Linked DNA regions of Homo sapiens: regions 2 and 3 are each linked to region 1. Evidence: promoter capture Hi-C in human tissues and cell types (Jung and others, 2019). All regions are on one chromosome and are shown on one strand. Each heading gives the region's core, a stretch centred on a gene start or on the middle of the fragment in contact. The rest is flanking DNA. Distances are from core to core; before and after follow the strand shown.

Region 1 (3,348 bases), core at 341-2,840:
TCTGCAGTCATTAAACCAATGAAACAGAAGCTTACTGAAAACAGGTTTGTGCAACATTTCTTTTTTATTATAACTGGTATAAAAATACAAGCAGTCCTTGGAAATGCAAATGAAGATTCTGAGAAATTTTTCATCTATCTAAATACCTAGAGTGTGAGAAGAAAACATGCAAACAAAAGAAAACCCTAACTCACGAATCTTAACCTGTAAAGATTTTCCTAATGCTTCCCTCAGTGAAAACCCTGGTTTACTCTTTATTTTCTTCCCCGTCAAACATTTGGAAAAGACCTCCACGTAGCGTTTCACGAACAGAACAGTGCTAAGAACAAATAAAAGCCTTGCGTGTACCTGGCAAATCTCATTCATCAGAAACGGTGGCAGCGGAGACAGAACCCTGTTGTCTGGCGTGACCCTCTCGCTCTTTCACAGCAGTTTTCACCACTCGAGTATCTGCCTTGCCTACTACTAAAGCAAAGCTTCCCAACCCCACTTGGGTGGCTTCCATGCCCCCACAGCAAGAAAAATCAAGCATCCAGCGCAGCCTTTTCTCAGCGCAGGGGGAATGTAATCAGCGCTCCTTGACCACTTAAGGAGTCGCCATAGGAAGTTAACAGGAAAGACGCTTCAGCCCCATCTCAGAGGCCCCACAAAAGGTGCACTGATTTCACCAAACGTGGCACTCTGGGCATGAGAAAACCACAGTCGAAACACAACCTACACCGCACACGAAGAAGGGTTTTCCGGGAGGGGGTTGGTGGCGCGGGGGGGGGGGTGTTTTCATTTTCTAGCCGCGAATGCCCCTTCATCTTTACAAGGCTGAGCTAAACTTCAAAGCAAAGGGTTTCCACGCGACCCGCCGCCTCGGACTCGCGCCTGGGCTCTTTGCTGGGTCGCACGAAAGCATCCGAGTGAAGTGACGCGCCCGCCCCGCCGCGGGGAGTCCTCGCCCGCCGGGGCGGAGAGAGACCAGACACCGGGAGAGGGGGACCCGCCTTGCCTCCGCACCGCCGGACCCAGCTCCCGCTCAGAAGCCTCCTCGGGCGCTTCCTCCCCCTTCCCTCCGGGTTTCCAAACGCCGAGGGCCGCGCAGCGCCGCACCCGGTCCCCCGCCGACCCCCGGGCCCCGACCCGGCCGCCCTTACCGAGCAGCAGCAGCTTGACCTCGCGCGCCGCCTTCTCGCCGTCCTCACGGAGGTTGCGGTCGATCATCTTACTCCGCTCCACCGCCGCCTTGTCCTCGGCGCTCAGCGTGCAGCCCATGGTGCCGAAAGCGAGAGCCTGCCGCCGCTCCCTCCGCGCCCGAGTGCGGGCTCCAAGCACAGGGGAATCCTTTCTCTCTCCTAGCGGGCGTTCGAACGCCTCCCGACGGGGGCCACGCCGCCCCCACCACTTCCTAAGCGGAGTCGAGGGAGACGCTGTCCGCAAAGGGGCAGACAGCAACGGGCGGCTGTTCCTCACGACCAGGCTCTGCTTCCCGGCCCGGCTCAGCGCCCCCAAGTCCCGGGTTTGGGGTTTTGAATCTCTGGGTACAGTGGCCGCTGCACTCCCGCCGGTGGCCGCGCCGCAGCCTCGCCAAGCCCAGCCGAGCTCGGCCTCCGCGCGCCGCCGCGGCCCCGCCCCTGCCCGCCCCTCCCACCACCCCGCGACCACTCCCAGAGCGCGCGCCCGCGCACGTGCCCTCGGACAGCGCCCCCCGGCCCCGGACCCCGGCGCCGCGCCACCACTGAGGGCCTGGCGCCCCCTGGCAGCGTCCCCGGGGCGCGCCACTGCCCCGCGGGGCTGTGGCCTTCTGCCCTGGGCGGGAGTGGGGTAATTTCTTTCCGTTTACTCACACGGAGGGAGCTGTGCGTACCTGCCCCTTCGGGTGGGGGTGGGAGAGCTGCCAAAGTTGCCGAAAAAAGCCAGTTCTGGGCGTTTGAGCATGCCCAGCGCCGGCAGCCACGCAAGGTTTTTCAAAATGCAAATCCCTGTCGGCTGGTTTCAGGGCCGTGAGAAACAGGGAACTGGGGAAGGAATGGAGCCTGGTGAAACCAGAGATGGGCACAGTGGAGAACAGGAAAGTCGGGGGAGGGGACTAGAAAAGGGCACCAAGGTCACTTTCTTCCTACCTTTTGCTTCTCTTTCCTTCTTCCTATCCCTCCCTCTTTCCTTGCACTCTCACGTTTTTCACAAGAACGCATTTTGAAGGATTTCCTCGTAACCTAAAAAAAATGGAAGACAAATAATCAAAAGTATTTTTAAATGACAAGAGCAATAAAACACACCCACACAAGCCAATCTCCACATCGTAGCAGATCTCCTCTAGAGCAGCACATAAGCTTCCATGCCAAATTTGGAGCCAATATTTATGACCGTGTTTGTAACTCCTGTACCATTGGGCATGCCATTTTTACAGGCCTTAGCTTCTTTGCCCATAAAATGAGGAGTGGATCTATGGTGCTATCTCCCCATCCTTCCAGCTGTAACAATCGGCGGAGATAAGTTCCTGTGGCCCGCGGGAGGCATTGCTACTCAGCACCCAATGAATGAGCAGAGGCTTAAGATCTCATCTCTCCCTGTCAGTTGCACTACACCTTTCCCCTACAGATATCACAGGAAGCGTTAACTGATTAGAAAATGGGGCTGGTAGCAAGGAAAAACATGGTCCTTGATGTACTAAAAATTGGAACATGCTCCCTGGTTTTCATCTGGAAATCTTATTCTCTAAAAATCATTTGGGAAAACTGGGCTTGAGTTTTCCAAGGTGAGGCTGAACTGATGATACAAGCAGAATAGCTTTCGAGTAGGTCACTGAGACCACGCTTGTGAGCTAGCAGAGACTGAGTTGCCTCCTTATGGGACATGTCCTTTCCTGTTCTCCTATGGGAGTCACACCACCTGCTGGGCTGATGAGATGCAATTTCAAGATCTGCCTCAACTATAATCTTTTGTAATATAACAACAAAAAGGAACAATCTTTAAATGTACTTAGTCACCTTCTACACTGTAATTCTAGGCACTCTAAATGCTAATGTGTATCAGAACTCTGGAATTAAACTTAAGGAAATCAAATTTCAACACACTGTGTATTAGCCATTCTTAATTATCTTTTATGGTGAGTCTTTCCTATTAAGTTCGGACCAGAGTGTGGAACCAACAGTTTCAGCAAAAGAAGAAGCAGTGCTGGCTGAATATTGGTAGAAATGACTACAAAACTTGTGTTTCGGAGAAATGAAGTATGTGTAACAGAAGTTTGTCAAATAGGTAACATTACTTCCATCCTTTGAAGTTAGTCAAATAGGTGAGTTAAAATGTGATACATAAACGAATAAGAACAGCAAATTAGATTTATATGTAGCACAATTCCTA
Region 2 (3,348 bases), core at 270-2,769, 110 kb before region 1:
GAAGGAGGAGCCACACATGCCTCATTATACCCACTTCCCTTTTGGAATTACTGATAGAAGAGACTCTAAGTCCGATAAGAAACATTTACAATCTTTGTCTGTGAAACCTGCTGCCTGGCTTCACCTGCATGATAAAGCCTTGGTCTCCACAACCCCTTATCATAACCCAGACATTCCTTTCTATTGATAATAACTCTTTTAACCAATTCCCAATCAGGAAATCTTTGACTCCACCTATGACCTGGAAGCCTCCACTTCCAGTTGTCCTACCTTTTGGGACTAAACCAATGTACATCTTACATGTATTGATTGATGCGTTATGCCTCCCTAAGATGGATAAAACCAAGCGATGGCCCGGCCACCTTTGGCACATGTTCTTAGGACCTCCTGAGGGCTGTGTCACAGGCCAGTGGTCATTCATATTTGACTCAGAATAAATCTCTTCAACTATTTAGAGAGTTTGACTTTTTTCATCAACAGTGAGAGGAAAACTTCTGGATGGGCAGAGCTCCCAGTAATGGACTTGGTCAGCCATTTTGTATGGAACGAGAAACAGCCTGAGGTAAGTGGCACAAACCTGAGATTGAGTGGCTCCTTAAATGTTGCATTCTAGGGGACCCTCTTGCCTCACACTACTCCTGGTCCTGTCTGAGATTAAGGGATCTACTGTTCCTATGATATCCTGCCCAACTCAGAAGCAATCAGCTTGGTAGAGATAAATTGGCCTCTTTAAAAAAAAAAAGAGAGAGAGAGAGAGAGAGAAAGGGGTCTTTCTGTGTTACCCAGGCTGGAGTGCACTGACTGTTCACACATGTGATCCCACCACTGGTCAGCACAGGAGTTTTGACCTGCTCCATTTCCAACATGAGCTGGTTCACCACTCCTTAGGCAACCTGTTGGTCCCTGTTCCTGGGAGGTCTCCATGGTGACACTGAACTTAATGTGGACACCCAATTGGCATATCACAGTACAGCCCAGAACTCAGAAGCTCAAGCTATGCTCCTGGCCTCAGCCTCCCAAGCAGATGGGACTCCAGGTGTGGACTACCACACCTGGCAGATTGGCTTCTTAAAAGCCTAGCTGAGGTGCCAGCTTAGAAAGGATACCCTATGAGAATGGGCATCACCATCCAGGGTGTCACATACAGCCTAAATCAACAATCATCATATGGAGCTTTGTTCCCCAAAGGTAGAATTCAAGGGCTTGGGAACTGAAAGATTAAAGTTGTAGTGGCCCTGGAAACCATTACACCCAGTGATCCACTTGGAGGGAATTGGCGTTTTCCCCTATATGTTTTAGATTCTACATGTCTGGAAATTCTGGTTCCTATAACAGTACCATTGAATTTTAGACTACTACTGCTATTCAGTCTTCCAGAATCCTTGTGCCAAGAAACCAGCAGGGAAGGAAAGGAGGCACCACCCTGGAAGAGGTAATTGATACGGTCTTCAGGAGGAGGAAGGGCAGCTGCTACCCCATGAGGGCAGGATGGGATATGTTTGGGCCTCTTTGGTGCTGCCATGCCCAGTTTTAATCCTATATAGGAAAATACATCTGCCATGGCCTGAGAATAGCAACCAGGAGCTCATACTGCTCAAGAATGATGGTGTGCATCACCTAATGAGGCAAACTTCCTAGATCAATGGAAGTGTGAGCTGAGGGAGAGGAGAACCTCCAATGGATGGTACAGGAAGATGGTATCAGTTATAGTTTTGAAATCAGCTGCAGCAACAGGGGCTGTAGTTCATCCAACTGACACTTCTTTTCATAATTTCCCAGGAAACAAGACTAATCAGGATCCTGGAAAGCTTTGCCCTGGTAGGAAGATAGAATTTAGGAAGGAAGTAGCTGTGAACCTCTCAAAGTTTAGGTGTAGTGCATACTATGTTGCTTATACAGACCCTCTCTGTAGAGCCAATTACCTCATTCCTTCTCTGGGAATTGCCATCCGTCAGAGGCAGGTGCCCCCATTTGCAGAACTGCCATGCAAGAGGCAGCCCAGGTCAATGACTGTATGGTGAGGAGATTTGTCTTAATTGGAAGAATTCCAGTCCTTCCCCACAGGATCAACTGAGGCCTCAGGAGGAAACACATTGGAGATCTCCTTCCCCCTGTTTAATCCTGCCTGCCTCGTGTCCTTATTAGAGCATCTCCTAGGAGCATGTACAACAAACCCTTTGGCCCAAATTCTCTGTCTCAGAATCTGTCTCTAGGGACTGAGTCTAAGACATGGGGCCAAACAACAAGCTGCTATAAGCAGAAGTGACTGCAGGAGAAGCAGCCAAGAGAGTAACAATAGGAAGCTGTTTCAGTCAAAAAGAGGCAAGAAATACGGTGGAAGCTCCAAGAGCTAGAGGGGTTGAGAGAGGTTTTATTTCCTTATTGTTGGTTGTTTGTTTAAGACAGAAAAGGCTTAAGGATGCTTACATGTTGACAGAATGGAGGGGGAGGGACAGGAGATACAGAAAAATATATGAGAAAAATAAATTGTATGAGGTTACAGAGGGGACAGGAAGAGTGGGAATCACAGGCTCAAGTGGAAAGTTAAGGCTTAACCTTATTTAGACGGGATGACTTAAAAATCTGACTTAATGTTTTGCAAATGGTTAGTCACTCATTTCAACACTGTTCTTGACCAGTTTCTTCTTTCCCCACTTATATAAATTGCTACTTTTAGCACAAACTAAATTATATATGCCTGAGTTTATTTTTAGGCTCATCTATTTCATAACCTCTTTATTCCTCATCCAATAATAAATTGATAAAATTACCGTAGGTTTATATGACATTTTGCTCAATGGTAGGGTAAGACATTCCTTCTCATTATCCTCTTCTTTTAAAATTTTAAATTTATTTTCTATATATCACATACTTTTCTTTTTAAGTTTATTATCATGATGTTTTACTTTTACTTGCTATTCAAAATTATTCCGTTACATTTTCAAGGTTTTGATTGTTGAGATGGGGTGATTAAAGGTTTTATTATTAATTGATCTTTTATTGATCCCCTTATGGAATTCAATGAGTTTTTACATTTGTTCATTTTCCGCATTTTTTAAAAAATTAGTAATTTTTTACTTTTCAATAATTAATATTGAATTTAGTTCTCACTAACCTTATTATAAGAGTCAGAACCTACCATATTTTTTGAGATGGAGATTTGAGTGCAGGAAGATTTGGGGGAATTGCTCTTGAAATCAACACCTGTGAGAAGGAATAGAGGAAAACAGGACTGGGCAGCCGAAAAAATGTGTTGTTGTGCAATCTCAATAAAGTCCTTAGCAACCCACAGGGAGCTCTGAAGCTTAGACAATCAATCCTTGAGAGTTTTGGCGAGGGGATCCAGAT
Region 3 (3,348 bases), core at 427-2,926, 86 kb before region 1:
ATCAACTTACAGTGGGCTTTTCAGGACTTAACCCACGGTAAGTCAAGGAGCACCTGTACTTTCTTCTAGGTGACAACTTCTTTTACTAAAAGTGGCACTCTTATCTGCTAAAATAGTCTCTGTCTAGTATTCTATGCATGTTTCCTCAAATTATCTCATTTTTAATCAATTAAAAATATTTTGGCCAGGTGCGGTGGCTCACACCTGTAATCCCAGCACTTTGGGCGGCCGAGGTGGGCGGATTACCTGAGGTCAGGAGTTCGAGACCAGCCCGACCGACATGGAGAAACCCCGTCTCTACTAAAAATACAAGATTAGTTGGGTGTAGTGTCGCATGCCTGTAATCCCAGCTACTCGGGAACCTGAGGCAGGAGAATTGCTTGTACCCGGGAGGCGGATGTTGCGGTGAGCCGAGATCGCACCATTGCGCTCCAGCCTGGGAAACAAGAACGAAACTCTGTCTCAGGAAAAAAAAAAAAAAAAAAATTAAATTTGAAGAACTAGCTCCTTCAATGACAGTGTTTCCATCCACTTTACGGATGGAGACCTAGGAAGACGGGCAGTAAAATCAAAGAAGCTGGAAATATTTGACCTTATACACAATACTCAGGAAGATTTATTACATGGTGGGACTATTCCAGTTGAGGCCTAATCAGCTCTGGCTTGGACAATTGCAGCTGATTCCTGTCTGTGCATATTTGGGTGTCTCTGGCCTCTGGACTTGATGAAATGTGAAATTTCGTAACTTTTAAAGTAACTACAAAATCCAACTAAATAAGAGAAATCACAACAGACACCAAAGCAAACAGTAATTGGTTTAAAAAAATGCCTGGGAAACAGGCCAGTGGGATTGTGAAACGTAAACTTCTTTATATAAATGCATTTCAACTGTTAAGAAAGGGTTTTGAAAAGAACTAAAAAAGAAAACTGGCTGGGCGCAGTGGCTCACGTCTGTAATCCCAGCACTTTGGGAGGCCGAGGCGGTCAGATCACAAGGTCAGGTGATCAAGACCATCCTGGCCAACATGGTGAAACCCCCCTTTACTAAAAATACAAAAATTAGCTGGGTGTAGTGGCGCATGCCTGTAATCCCAGCTACTCGGGAGGCTGAGGCAGGACAATTGCTTGAACCATGGAGTTGGAGGTTGCAGAGAGTGGAGATTGCACGACTGCACTCCAGCCTGGTGAAGGAGCAAGACTCCATACCAAAAAAAAAAAAAAAAAAAAAAAAAGAAAATTTCCAACCTAACATTAAAATATAAACTCTCTCATACTATTGGTTACATTAAAACGACAGAAGTGTCCTCAAGTTGATTAGAGATTGCATTTTCTCATTTTCCAGTATCAATATGTGAGACACTTAGTTTTCATTATGAAAACGAATTATGAGAGTTTTGTTTTTGAGGCATTTCATTCAAAGCACGTATCAACAACCATTTGTTAAGCACTGATTATGATTTTAAAGGCACCTTAAAACTATTATTTATAATCAAATAACAGCAAATTGTATTGACGGCTTATACATTCCACACTCCCCTCTAGGTACTTAACATGTACTGTGAACTTATTTAATGCTGACAACAACCATTAAAATTAATGGATTATTTAATCCTTATTTATTTTCAGATGATATAAATGGAGGCAGAGCAAAACTAAATTATTTGCCCAGATTTTCCCAGTTAATAAGAAATTGAGCCAGGATTTGAAGCCAGACGGGGTGCCAGAGCCTAGGATTTTCACCATCACTTTCTACTTCCAACATAACACACTAAGCAATGATGATGCTACCATCTGTAATAATGATTACAGTATCAACTAAATTCATTTACATAAGGTGGTTCTGCAAACGGCAAATGATGTAAAAAATGGTAACTGTGCTCTTAAGTAGCTTCACATCTAAGGAGTAAAAAATAGCTCTGATGAAAGACATTAATAAGTATCTCCTTTTTTAAATCTGAAAAACTATTATGGCTCAGAGGAACTCAAGGGCAGAGTGGGGATAGGCGAAACACTACTTACACATTTTCTGGAAATAAGGTAGCATCTTTGGGGTCCTCTGACAGACATGGAGTCAGAAGCTCTAGGTTTAAAACCTTCATCTGGTCTTGCTCAAGTTAATTAACCTCTTTAAGCCTTTTTTGATCTCTAGTTACTGTCAGTATTCAATGAGAACATATGGATTTTAATCAGTACTTTTTCAGTAACAAACTGAATTCGATTAAACTAGATTAGGCATAAAAAAGTAGACTTTTAGAAGGTTACTGAAATGAAGAGAATTTTAGAAACCACAAGCGCCTTAGGGACTTTAAGAATGGCAACTGGGACAATGATTGGCTCACTCGTCCAATGCTGGAGGACTCGGATTGGTCAGGTCTAAGCCTAGAGACGGAGAAGTAAGAAATGCGATTGGCAGCTCTATCAGAATCATGTAGTTCCCAGAAGGGCACCCTGAAGAACAGATGCCAGAGGAGTCTAAAAGAGGTATCACAAACAAATTTAAAAGTGCCAAATTTAAAAGTGCCAATACATTTTACACACCATTTTAAAAGTGCTAATAAAAATAACATTGACAGACACAAATGAACACTTCCCACATTGTAGGCACTGCTCTAAGCATATCACATGTAGTAAGTAATACAGTACTTGGAGGAAAGCCCAGGTTATGCACAGGACACTATTTGGATACAGTGTAGAAAGGAACAGGCCTCAGGTGATGAAGAGCATTAAATGGCAGGCTAACTTATACTTAATTTTATTGACAAATCAGAGCCAATGCAGATCAAGGAATAGAAGGTGATAGGGCCACAGTTCTACATTAGGATAACTAACCTGGGTTTTTCGAGAAGAGAGAAATGGGAGGTGGGGAATTTAACTAATAATGCCATTTTAAGAGGAAGTTTAGCAAAGACTTGAATAGGTAGTAGTAGGAATAGAAAGGAAAACAAACAAAAAACAGATTTAAGGCTTTGTAGAACTGTCAGTAAATTGAAATGGAGATTAGGAATCAGAAGAGTTCCACCTAATGCATGCAGGGCTTAAAACTTAGATGACAGGTTGATAGGTGCAGCAAACCACCATGGCACATGTATACATATGTAACCAACCTGCATGTTCAGCACACGTATCCCAGAACTTAAACTAAAAAGTTCCCCATTGAAGGAATAAATGATGATGGTACTTAGTAAGGAAAAATGGCAAAGTCAGGGTGAGAACTGGTGTAAGGAGAGAATGATGATGAATTTAGTTTTGAATATAATGAGTTAAAAAGCAGGCAATGCATTCTCAGAAGGGGATATCAAGAAGGCAATTCCAAATGTGGCATCACATCTCATAGCTTGGAACAGGGAA

What was found. Contacts are between HindIII fragments. The study calls those that stand out against the background at their distance.
Region 2: a contact is called between a fragment that was not itself captured here and the fragment with the promoter of GNAI1 in region 1, in 2 of the 25 tissues and cell types used here (dorsolateral prefrontal cortex and stomach).
Region 3: a fragment that was not itself captured here is called in contact with the fragment with the promoter of GNAI1 in region 1 in 2 of the 25 tissues and cell types used here (IMR-90 fibroblasts and hippocampus).

What each region holds. Positions count from the first base shown.
Region 1 is chr7:80,133,073-80,136,420 of GRCh38, reverse strand. GNAI1 (G protein subunit alpha i1) reads right to left here and starts at 1,590. Exons shown (of 8, transcript NM_002069.6): 1 at 1,143-1,590. The coding sequence starts at 1,260. The HindIII fragment of the contact is 3,503 bases long and covers 1,398-3,348 here.
Region 2 is chr7:80,243,635-80,246,982 of GRCh38, reverse strand. LOC107986743 (a long non-coding RNA gene) reads left to right here. Exons shown (of 3, transcript XR_001745025.2): 2 at 481-562; 3 at 1,352-1,452. It also overlaps the pseudogene RN7SL869P. Among named protein-coding and RNA genes, the nearest start is that of GNAI1, 110 kb to the right of the region's middle. The HindIII fragment of the contact is 6,730 bases long and covers 1-3,348 here.
Region 3 is chr7:80,219,521-80,222,868 of GRCh38, reverse strand. GNAI1 (G protein subunit alpha i1) reads right to left here. Exons shown (of 8, transcript NM_002069.6): 8 at 1-3,348. Among named protein-coding and RNA genes, the nearest start is that of GNAI1, 86 kb to the right of the region's middle. The HindIII fragment of the contact is 7,127 bases long and covers 1-3,348 here.